Regions from separate parts of the Homo sapiens genome. Here region 2 is linked to region 1. Evidence: promoter capture Hi-C in human tissues and cell types (Jung and others, 2019). All regions are on one chromosome and are shown on one strand. The core of a region is centred on a gene start or on the middle of the fragment in contact, and the rest is flanking DNA. Distances in the headings are between cores, read along the strand shown. Region 1 holds the start of SRD5A3 (steroid 5 alpha-reductase 3). Region 2 has its middle 18 kb from the start of LINC02283.

Evidence for each region. Contacts are between HindIII fragments. The study calls those that stand out against the background at their distance.
Region 2: a fragment that was not itself captured here is called in contact with the fragment with the promoter of SRD5A3 in region 1 in 1 of the 25 tissues and cell types used here (dorsolateral prefrontal cortex).

The regions. Positions count from the first base shown.
Region 1 is chr4:55,342,999-55,348,303 of GRCh38, forward strand. It overlaps SRD5A3 (steroid 5 alpha-reductase 3), which reads left to right and starts at 3,244. Exons shown (of 5, transcript NM_024592.5): 1 at 3,244-3,559. The coding sequence starts at 3,339. RefSeq lists an enhancer at 2,965-3,725 and silencers at 3,177-3,346, 3,557-3,826. The HindIII fragment of the contact is 5,833 bases long and covers 404-5,305 here.
Region 2 is chr4:54,312,459-54,317,763 of GRCh38, forward strand. No RefSeq gene overlaps it. Among named protein-coding and RNA genes, the nearest start is that of LINC02283, 18 kb to the right of the region's middle. The HindIII fragment of the contact is 4,340 bases long and covers 1,011-5,305 here.

The DNA of each region.
Region 1 (5,305 bases), core at 1,994-4,493:
CAGCTACTAGGGTGGCTGAGGCAGGAGAATTGCTTGAACCTGGGAGGTGGAGGTTGTGGTGAGCCGAGATCGTGCCACTGCACTCCAGCCTGGGCAAAAAGAGTGAAACTCCGTCCCAAAAAAAAAAAAAAAAAAAAAAAAAAAAAAAAAAAAAAAGATGGTGAGGTCCCAATACAGCCAATGGATGCAGGACACAGCAATAAGGACAACCCAAATGCGTAAGGGATAAATATGTCTCATTTTCCTTTGTTCAAGTTTGCTCTCGACATTGTTCCATCTGCGAATGAGCACCCTTTCTGCAGAAAGTAAAGATGGCCTTGCTGAGAGATCTTTTGTCTCTGTGCTGACTTTTCTTCATGGCACCGATTATCTATTTCTAACAGTTTTGGTATTTCTAACATCTTACATATCCTTATTAGATTTATTCCTAGACATATATTTTATGCCATTGTGAATTGTACCTTTGAAACATACAAATTTTTGTTCGTTGATGAGAAATAAAAATGTACAATTTCCTGTTTGTTGCTGGGAAATAGAAATAATATTTATGAACAGATTTTTATCTCCAGCAACCTCCCCAAACTGCCTACTAGTTCTGATACCTTATCTGTGGATGCCATTGGAGTTTCTATTATTGGAGTTTCATATAATCATCAAATAATGACAGCGTTATTTCTTACTTAGCAGTCCTTATATGTTTTATTTCTTTTTCTGATTTATTGAGATGGCTAGGGACTTAAAGCACTGACTCTAAGGATAATTGAATTTAGATTCATATTTTGAAGGTAGAGCCAACAGGATTTGCTGACAGATTGCATTTAGGCTATGAGAGAAAGACAGGAATCAAGGTTGAGTTTAGGGTTTTTGGCCTGAGCAACTGGAAAAATGGCTTTGCCGTTTACTGCAGGCAATACCAGTAGTTTGTTGAACATATAGTGCAGTTAATTAAATGAAGAAAGACAAAAATGCTCACTGATATTTATTAGCAATGATCTTTCTAACAGATGTTAGCCTGGTATTCCACTTTTGAACTAACTCACTCCAGTAAGGATTTACATTTACAAATACTCCCAGGAGGGTTTAACTTACGGCTTTCTGTTCAGCCACTGCCATCTACAGGGGGCTTCTCTGAATATAAACTGTGCATGCTGATTAAAATCTAAAAAATAGCCAGGCAGGGTGGCTCACGCCTGTAATCTCAGCACTTTGGGAGGCCGAGGCAAGCGGATCACCTGAGGTCGGGAGTTTGAGACCAGCCTGACCAACATGGAGAAACCCCGTCTCTACTAATAATACAAAATTAGCCTGGTGTGGTGTCACATGCCTGTAATCCCAGCTACTCGGGAGGCTGAGGCAGAATAGCTTGAACCCAGGAGGCAGAGGTCACGGTGAGCCAAGATCGTGCCATTGCACTCCAGCCCGGGCAACAAGAGTGAAACTCGGTCTCAAAAAAAAAAATCTAAAAAATATATGGGATGATTTTCCCCTCCAGCCTCCTCAACCCTTCCTGTTTCCACTACACACACACTCACACATACACACACACTTATCTTGTTTTCAATCTTGCCCCAGGTCAGACAACTGTAAGAGAAACTCCTACCCAGGAAACTGAGTCCCTGCAATGCACTTACAAGTAGCTTCTCTGAAAAGAAAAAGATCATGGACAGACCAGCTGCATTTACAGAGAGTTAACCTAAGAAAAATAAAGAAACAGTGAAGGGGTGCCAGGAGCATTGGCTCATGCTTGTAATCCCAGCACTTTGGGAGGCCGAGGCAGATGGATCACGAGGTCAGGAGATCAAGACCATCCTGGCTAACACAGTGAAACCCCATCTCCACTAAAAATACAAAAAAAAAAAAAAAAAAAAAGCCAGGCGTGGTTGGGGGGGCACCTGTAGTCCCAGCTATTCGGGAGGCTGAGGTAGGAGAATGGTGTGAACCTGGGAGGCAGAGCTTGCAGTGAGCAGAGATCAGGCCACTGCACTCCAGCCTGGGCGACAAAGCGAGACTCCATCTCAAAAAAAAAAAAAAGAAAAGAAAGAAACAGTGAAAGGGTGACTCCCGCAAAAGAGATCCAGGATCACTCAATAAGGCCTCATTGTCCTAGCTAGAATGCCAATTTAACCATCCTTAATCACCTGGCTGTCAAAGGACGGGTAAAGCCTTAGGTGTCTTTTGCACAAAGAAGAAAACTTTAAAAGCTTGCTCATTTAACAGTCCAAAGTCCCACTAACCTACCCACCCTGATGTTTATTCAACACACATATCGGGTATCTCATTGGGGTAAGGGTGATGAGTTGGCTACCTCTCCCCTCTTCCACTTCTCACCCACCACCCAATCTCAAAAATGTAAGCTCCAAATAAGCAGTGACAATTATCTTGTAAACCCCTCTGTCCTCAGTATCCAAAATGATGCCTGTCATACAGTAGGCATACAATACTTCAGAATTAACATTTTAAAGACTTTTAAATACTTAAAAGAGCTAGATTTTCACTTATAGTAAATAAAATCAGTGTTGTTTAAAATCAGTGAGTCAATAAATAGCATTGTCACTACCTGAGATAAATGTTACAGGAAACAGCTGATGGAATTTAAAAACTTTGCTTCTAAGGATTGGAACCCTATTGGTAAGCGACTGCTGTTTTTTAAACACAGTTTTTACCACTATGATTTTTATTATTATGTGCAATTACTTGTCTACATGTTTACATTATACACATATCCAACACATTTCCAGCATCCTAACATAATTATTCATTTTTGGGTGTGATCTGCCTTCTTTATCCATATATACACACATTCATATTAATATAGTTGTTTGCAATCATAGCTATGTATTTTTATGGTTGGTTTTGTTTTTCACTTCACATATTGTTTCCTAAACAGCTTTCCCTGTTTCTACACTCGTCATAATAATTCTCAATGACTGCATGATATTCTAACATGTCAGTGTATCATAATTTAGCTAAATAAACTAAAATGCAACATGTAAGGTTTCCATTTTTTGCTTTGGAGATAATGTTGATAAGAGTGGCAGACACGTGGTCTCGTCTGTTTTGCGTCTTTGCTTCTGATGAATCATATTCTGGAGCTCCATCTAAGAATCCCCATGCCCAGATTAGGGACTGCGAGCGACCACCCAGCGCCAGCGCGACCAGGACCAAGGACCTCCGCGGCTGAGCGGCGAGTCCGGGAGGGGCTCTGCGCGTCCCCGCCCCGCGCCGCGTCACCGACGTCCCGCTAGGCTGAGACCGGTGCGCCGCGCGCTAGTGGCCGCTCTTCCGCGGGCTAGCGGGCGGTGGGGGCGCCAGCAGCGCGGAAGGCGGGCACGCGGGCCATGGCTCCCTGGGCGGAGGCCGAGCACTCGGCGCTGAACCCGCTGCGCGCGGTGTGGCTCACGCTGACCGCCGCCTTCCTGCTGACCCTACTGCTGCAGCTCCTGCCGCCCGGCCTGCTCCCGGGCTGCGCGATCTTCCAGGACCTGATCCGCTATGGGAAAACCAAGTGTGGGGAGCCGTCGCGCCCCGCCGCCTGCCGAGCCTTTGATGTCCCCAAGAGGTAACCGCGCCCCGGTCCCGAGCCGCGGTGGTCAAGGCGCTGAGAGTTCGGGGCGCCCCGGCTCGCGGGCAGCCAGCAGGGGGCAGCAGAGGCGGGACCCGGCCTGGGAGGCCCTGGCGGGTTCCCGGGCGCAGCACGGCGCTCCCTCGGCCTGGCCCCGGCCATGCCCCGGCTGCTGCGTGGCTCCGGGGAGCAGTGCCCGGGTGTCCGCGGACGCCGAGGGAGAGCGGAGCCGCTTGCACTCAGCTGGAGGAATGTGAACTGGTAGCCGCACGGAGCCTTTCCCTGTGGGAAATGGCAACGCATCCGAATTTAGGCCTGGTCATGCGAATTTAGGCGGCAAATTGAAGTGCCCCTTGCCCCAAATTCTCCTTTTTCCCGTACCCTGCACTCCAGTGGCTCATACTCTAACTTGAGGTCACCGGGAATCATTTGTGGAAATGAAGTTAGGCCGGCTCTTCGGCCTCGGCTTCCCCCGTTTCTCTTCCCAACCCTTGCAGTGGGGACAAAGGACTGAGTCGCCCTAACCTGCACCTTGGCAGGTGCCCCTGGGGAAGGTGGCCCAAGGTGCAGGTCATAGGCAGGCCCGTCCCGAAGCTCCATTTGACTTTCGAAAAATTCTGTAACCCAGTTCAGCGAAGGATTAAATCGTCAGGTTTTAAATAGAGACCTGTTATAATTTTCTTCTTCTCCTTTTTCCACTTTAAATTCAGGACATAGCTGGAAAGAGTTGGCCAAATACTATTCGAGATGGTAGAAATAGAACAGTGCCCCTTAAGATGCATCTTAGGCCGGGCGCAGTGGCTCACGCCTGTAATCCCAGCACTTTAGGAGGCTGAGGCAGGCGGATCGCTTGAGTTCAGGAGTTCGAGACCAGGCTGGGAAATATAGTGAGACTCCGTCTCTCCTGAAAATACAAAAAATTGGCAGGGCTTGGTGGCGTGTGCCTGTAGTGCCAGCTACTTGGAATGAAGGCAGGAAGATCATCTGAGATCAGGCATTGGAGACTGCAGTGGGCTATAATCATGGCACTGCACTCTAGCCTGGGCAACAGAGAAATACCTTGTATTTAAAAAAAATTTTTTTTTAAAGGTTAAAAACATCTGGGTTGTCGCTTGAAACACTCATAGGCAGTGCCCCAGGTCCGCAGGCAACAAAGGGACAAGTATAATTTGGCTTCTAAAACTTGGATAATCTGCGAATTTTGACTGTCAGAGAAAGATGTGTCATGTGTTAACACAGAGAAGGGAGAACTAGGTCATTCTGAGGCACCCTAAAGGGAAGAAGTAGAAGTACATGAAACAAATTGATCAAACCTCCTGTTTCCTAGAGGCTCTTTTTAAGCAAAAATTACCTGTTATCCCATTTGTAATCAGGGTTGAATCCTTTTATACTTCACAGCAATTTATTTTCTGAGTTTTGAGAAAGGTACTAGTCTAGTGTACCTGGATTAAATGGCACATGTAAAATCATCCCCTGAACTTGCATACACCCCAGCTGTTGCAACTCAAGTCTGTTATTACATGACAGCCAAGAAAGAGACTTGGTACCTTTTCCTTATTCATTACTGTAACAGTTGGTTCTGTTTGGACTTCCTGTAATTTCTACTCTATTGTGAAATAATTTACACCTTTTTCTTCTTCCAGAATTCTACAGTAGAACCTCCCATAGTGTTCAAGTGCCCTTCCCCTCCTTCTCTAAATTTAAACAGACATTTCTTTTAGTACTGGAGAAGGTACAAAACAT
Region 2 (5,305 bases), core at 1,931-4,430, 1.0 Mb before region 1:
CTACAGCCATAAGATCCTTATTGTATCATTTCTTACCCTCTGCTGCAGATGCTGTATATATGACTGAGTAGATTGGCTCACTGAACATCTTTTCTAAACATTGCCATTATTACTTTTTTCTAATGCAAGTGTTGGAAATCAATGTACTCAAATTCCCTTGCAGATGGAATTTTATTCTGGCCAGTAAGATGTAGGTGCAATTTCTTGGGAGGACTTCCTTAGTGCACTGAAAAAGTAAAAGCTTGAGGAAAAGGTTCTGTCTTTCTCATTTTGCTCTTCCCATTTCTTTCTGCCTGGAACTTAGAATTACTGCCTGGAGTTGCAGCAATCATCTTTTGACCATGAAGTTAAAAATTACACACTGAAAGTGGCAGTCCAGGAGACAGAAGACAGGCTTTTAAATGACATTCTTGCATAGGTGCATTAGCCCTGACCTATCTACCTCTAGATTCTTTTTTGCATGAGAAAAATACATCTTTAGGCGACTATTTTCAGTTATCCATTCTTTGTAACAAATAACATTTGTAAGCATAAGCGATACAACCTATTTGCAACAAACTAAAAAGTTGTATGGGGATATCTGTCATTTTAATTTTTAATGTATGCTTTCTTCATTGTGCTTCCAATATATCAAACTCTCTTGGTATTTCTCCTGCATTACAGGTTGTTTTTTTCTCAGTTGCTTTGCTGATCCTTTTTTTCCTGGCCTCTATTCATGTTAGAGTGCCCCAGGTCTCTAGGTTAGGTGCTGCAGACTCTCTAAGAGTCTTGTTTGTTTGTTTTTTTGGTCTCATCTAACTTCAGGGCTTCAAATACTATCTATATGCTGGCAGATCCTAAATGTATATTTGTAACCCAGGCCTCTCTCTCTCTCTCTCTCTCGCTATCTCGTTGTGTGTCCAACTGCCTACTCAACATCTTCATTTGAATGTCAAATAGTTGATCTATCTATCTATCTATCTATCTATCTATCTATCTATCTATCTATTATCTATCTGTTATCTATCTATCTATCAGCTATATATATCTGTTTTAGAGATGGGGTCTCACTACATTGCCCAGGCTGGACTCAAAGAGATCCTGTGCTCAAGAGATCATCCTACTTCAGTTTCCCAGTAGCTGGGACTGCAGGCATGCCAGGATATAAAGTAGCTGATCTCTTACCTTCAAAACAATTTCCATCACTTGAGCCCAGGAGTTTGAGACCAGCCTGGGCAATGTGGCAGAACCCTGTCTCTACTAAAAATGCAAAAAATTAGCAAGACATAGTGGCCCATGCCTGCAGTCCCAGCTACTCAGGGGACTGAGGTGGGAGAATCACCTGAGCCCAGGAAGTCGAGGCTGCAGTGAGCTGTGATCATGCCACTGCACTCCAGCCTGGGCGACTAGAGTGAGACCCTGTCTCAAAACAAAACAAAACAAACAAAAAACTTAACTTCCAAGCCAGATGCGATGACTCACACCTGTAATCCCAGCACTTTGGGAGGCTGAGGCAGGCTGACCATGAGGTTAAGAGTTTGAGACCAGCCTGACTAACATGGTGAAACCTCATCTCTACTAAATACAAATATTAACTGGGCATGATGGTGCGCACCTGTAATCCCAGCTACGCAGGAGGCTGAGGCAGGAGAATCTCTTGAATCCAGGAGGCGGAAGTTGCAGTGAGCCGAGATTGTGCCATTGCACTCCAGCCTGGGTGACAGAGCGAGACCCCATCTCAAAAAACAAACAAACAAAAAAACCAAAAAAACAAAAAACTTAACTTCTTCCTTCTCTCAAGCTTGATCCACCATCAGTGTCCATCATCTCAGTTGATGGCAACTCTAATTTTCCAGTTGCTCATGCCCCAAATCTTGGAGTCATCCTTGGCAATCCTCTTTCTCACGTTCTGTGTCTAATCTGCCAAGATTCTGGTTCTCCCTTAAGCATACCTGAAATCTATTCAGAATCTGACCGCTCTCACTCTCTCTAGTGCTGCCACCCTGGGCCATGCCATCATGACCTTTCACCTGTATGACTGCAGTAGGCTCCTCAAAAGTCTCCCCACTTTGCTGTTTTCCCTCCCACAACAGACTATTTTCAAAGCAGCAGCTAGAGGAATCCTTTTAAAATGAAGTCATGATCACTCTTCTGCTCAAAACCGTGCAATGTCTTTTCGTCTTACACTTATCAAGGCCTGTCACGATCTGGCCTTCGTCACCTCTTCAAAGTTCTCTTCCGTTCTCTTTGTTCACTTCCTTCCAACCTCACGGGCCTCATTGCAGTTTCTAGAGCACAACAAGAACACACCCCTGTCATGGCCTTTGAACTGGCTGTTCCCTTTGTATGGAATGCTCTTTCCCTAGTTATCTTTGGATAATCCTCTCACTTCCTTAAAGTATCTCCTTAATTTCATCTTTTCCAAGAGGCCGACTTTGACAGTCCTATTTAACCTTGCCATCGGCACCATCCCACCATGTCCACCTCTATGCTGCCCCCATCCCCAGCACATCCCATCCCACCTACCCTGCTCAACTTTCTCTTTCTTCCCCTACAACGTATAATCTTCTAACTTACTGTATAGTTTATTGACGTGCTTTTGGTTATTTTCTGCCTCCCCTTCTAGAATGTAAACTATGTGATGACAGAATTTGCATGTTTTGTTCACTGATACATCCCTGGTGCCTGGAACAGTGCTGGTTCAGAGTAAGTGCTCAGTAAATATTTGTTGCAGGATTGAATAAATTACCCATTCACAGAAGGATTTATGGGGGAGCTTCGGGGCAGCAGACTAACTGAGAAACCAACACTCAAATCTGGCAACTCCTGAAGCCAGATTGAATGTTGACCCCGAAGTTCCTTCCCATGTGCATCAACTCAGAATGCTTACAACATAATGACTGTGGCCGTCTCTAGTGAAAAAAGAACAACAGTCTTGAGAGTGACTGTATGGGAAGCTTTTAGTAGGGACACAGCTGAAAAGCACCCTTTGCAGTTAAATAGAGCTTTTCTTGAATCTGGAAAAACCAAACACTCCACAGAATGCACTCATTTGCCATCAGACTTATGGGAATAATTGTATCCCAGATTTAAAAAAAAACCCAGAGTTTTACTGGCAACCTGTCCAAGCCTGGAGTGAGTGAGGCTAAAGGAAGAACTAGATATAGGGAAATTTTTTACCCCAAGCACTACTGGAATTAAGTACGTGGGTGATCTTGGGTGGTGGCTACTTTCATAAAAGGTGTTTTTGTAGAACTTGTGAATTTCTCAGAAACACTGACTTGTACCTCACTGAGGCTGAGAGTTTGTTCTACTTCTGGTCTGAATAAGCAAATGTTTAGTTTCAGTTCCTCTTCAAATTCAGGACTGTCGTTAGATTTCTATGAAAGCTACTTGGCAAAGGACCCAGTCCATCCATAGAGGCCTGCTTCAGCGTGGAGTACAGCATACAATAGTGTGTATTTAGACTATGCTACAGCTGAGGGCTAGCCACTTGATAGAGCTCCTCTATGTTAATGGTGTTAGAATGGAAATTCTTTATCCTTGTAGCTGTACCATAGGGTGGGGACCAGGGACACTCAACAGAGTTGGGAGTCCATGTGCCTCCTTAAATTTTGCACCTCAGGCATCTCACATGCCTCATTCTGGTTGTGATCCTGCTGCAATCTGTTCTCACTCTGAACCACATGGAGTTAGCATTAAATGCTATGGGAAATCTAGAAATTTTCTCATGCTGAGTTCCTTTAAAGAGAGTCACCATCTTGGTTCTGATACTCTCTGACTGGTATTGGACAAGCCTTTCTTTGTTAGCAACTTGAAACTGTGGGAGGCTCTCTGTAGAATTACTGTTATGTTTTGGAATAACAAGAACAGCATTTTGCTGCTGGAAAAGGCCATTTTCCTTCTGTCTGCTTTTTTTCATGTATTGCCTTTCTTTTCTTTCTAAAACATCTTTTGTTTCATTTTTGTTCTCAAATCATTGTGTTTAGAACAACAATAATTGAGAGTCTAGCGGGAAGTTTTTATAAACTAACAATTGGGTTTAAACAAAGGCTTAATAGTCAAGTTCTGAATAGTTGGACTCCTGAAAAGTTCTAGCTAGAATGATCATAAATATAACATTTAAAAAAATACACAGGGGGAGTCCTTTTTACTAATTTTTCTCTTTTAAGTGAAGAGTTTTGTATGCATTAGGTAAGACCAACCAATCCTGTTTCTCATAGCTCTATATCTGTTGCTTGGTCAGATCACAGTGAATTTACCTGGGTTATAGGATGCCCTGCATCTGGACAGGGGTGATGCTTCATGAACATGAATTCATTGACAATATTGTGCCTGTAAGAAGCTGAGTTTGCTGGGAAAAAGGCACTAGCAGATCACATTCTTGAGAGTTAGTGATAATAATGAACATGATTATAATGTGCAAAGACTTTTATAACTTTTCTTTTTTTTTAAGAGATGGGGGCCGGGTGTGGCAGCTCACACCTGTAATCCCAGCACTTTGGGAGGCCAAGGCGGGTGGATCACTAGGACAGGAGTTTGAGGCCAGCCTGGCCACTATGGTGAAACTCCATCTCTACTAAAAATACCAAAGTTAGTCGGGCATGGTGGTGCACGCCTGTAGTCCCAGCTACTCAGGAGGCTGAGGCAGAAGAATTGCTTGAATTTGGGAGACGGAGGTTGCAGTGAGCCGAGATCATACTACTGCACTCCAGCCTGGGTGACAGAGTGAGACTCTGTCTCAAAAAAAAAAAAAAAAAGAGATGGGGGTCTCTTCATGTTGACCAGGCTGGTCTCAAACTCCTGGTCTTAAGTGATCCTTTCATTTTGGCCTTCCAAAGTGCTGAGATTACAGGCATGAGCCACCACACCCGTCCTGTTATCATATATTTTAAATAAGCCTCATGACAATCACATAAATTTTTTTTATTACTCATATATTTTAGGTGAGCAAAAGAAAATTCAAAGGTAGTAACATAGCTAGAATTACAAAGGAAGAGGTGTGATTTGTGCTCATGTCTTAATTTTTAAAGCAAATTGAGGCCGGGCATGGTGGGTCAAGCCTGTAATCCCAATGCTTTGGGAGGCTGAGGCAGGAGGATCGCTTGAGGTCAGGAGTTCCAGACCAGCCTGAGCTGGTGAGACCCCCGTGTCTACAAAAAAAAAAAAAAAAAAAAATTAGCTAGTCTTGGTGTTGGTGCACACCTGTACTTCCAGCTACTTAGAAGGTTGAGGCAAGAGGAGCGTTTGAGCCCAGGAGGTTGAGGCTGCAGTGAGCTGTGATAGCACGACTGCATTTCAGCATAGGTGACAGATTGAGACCTTG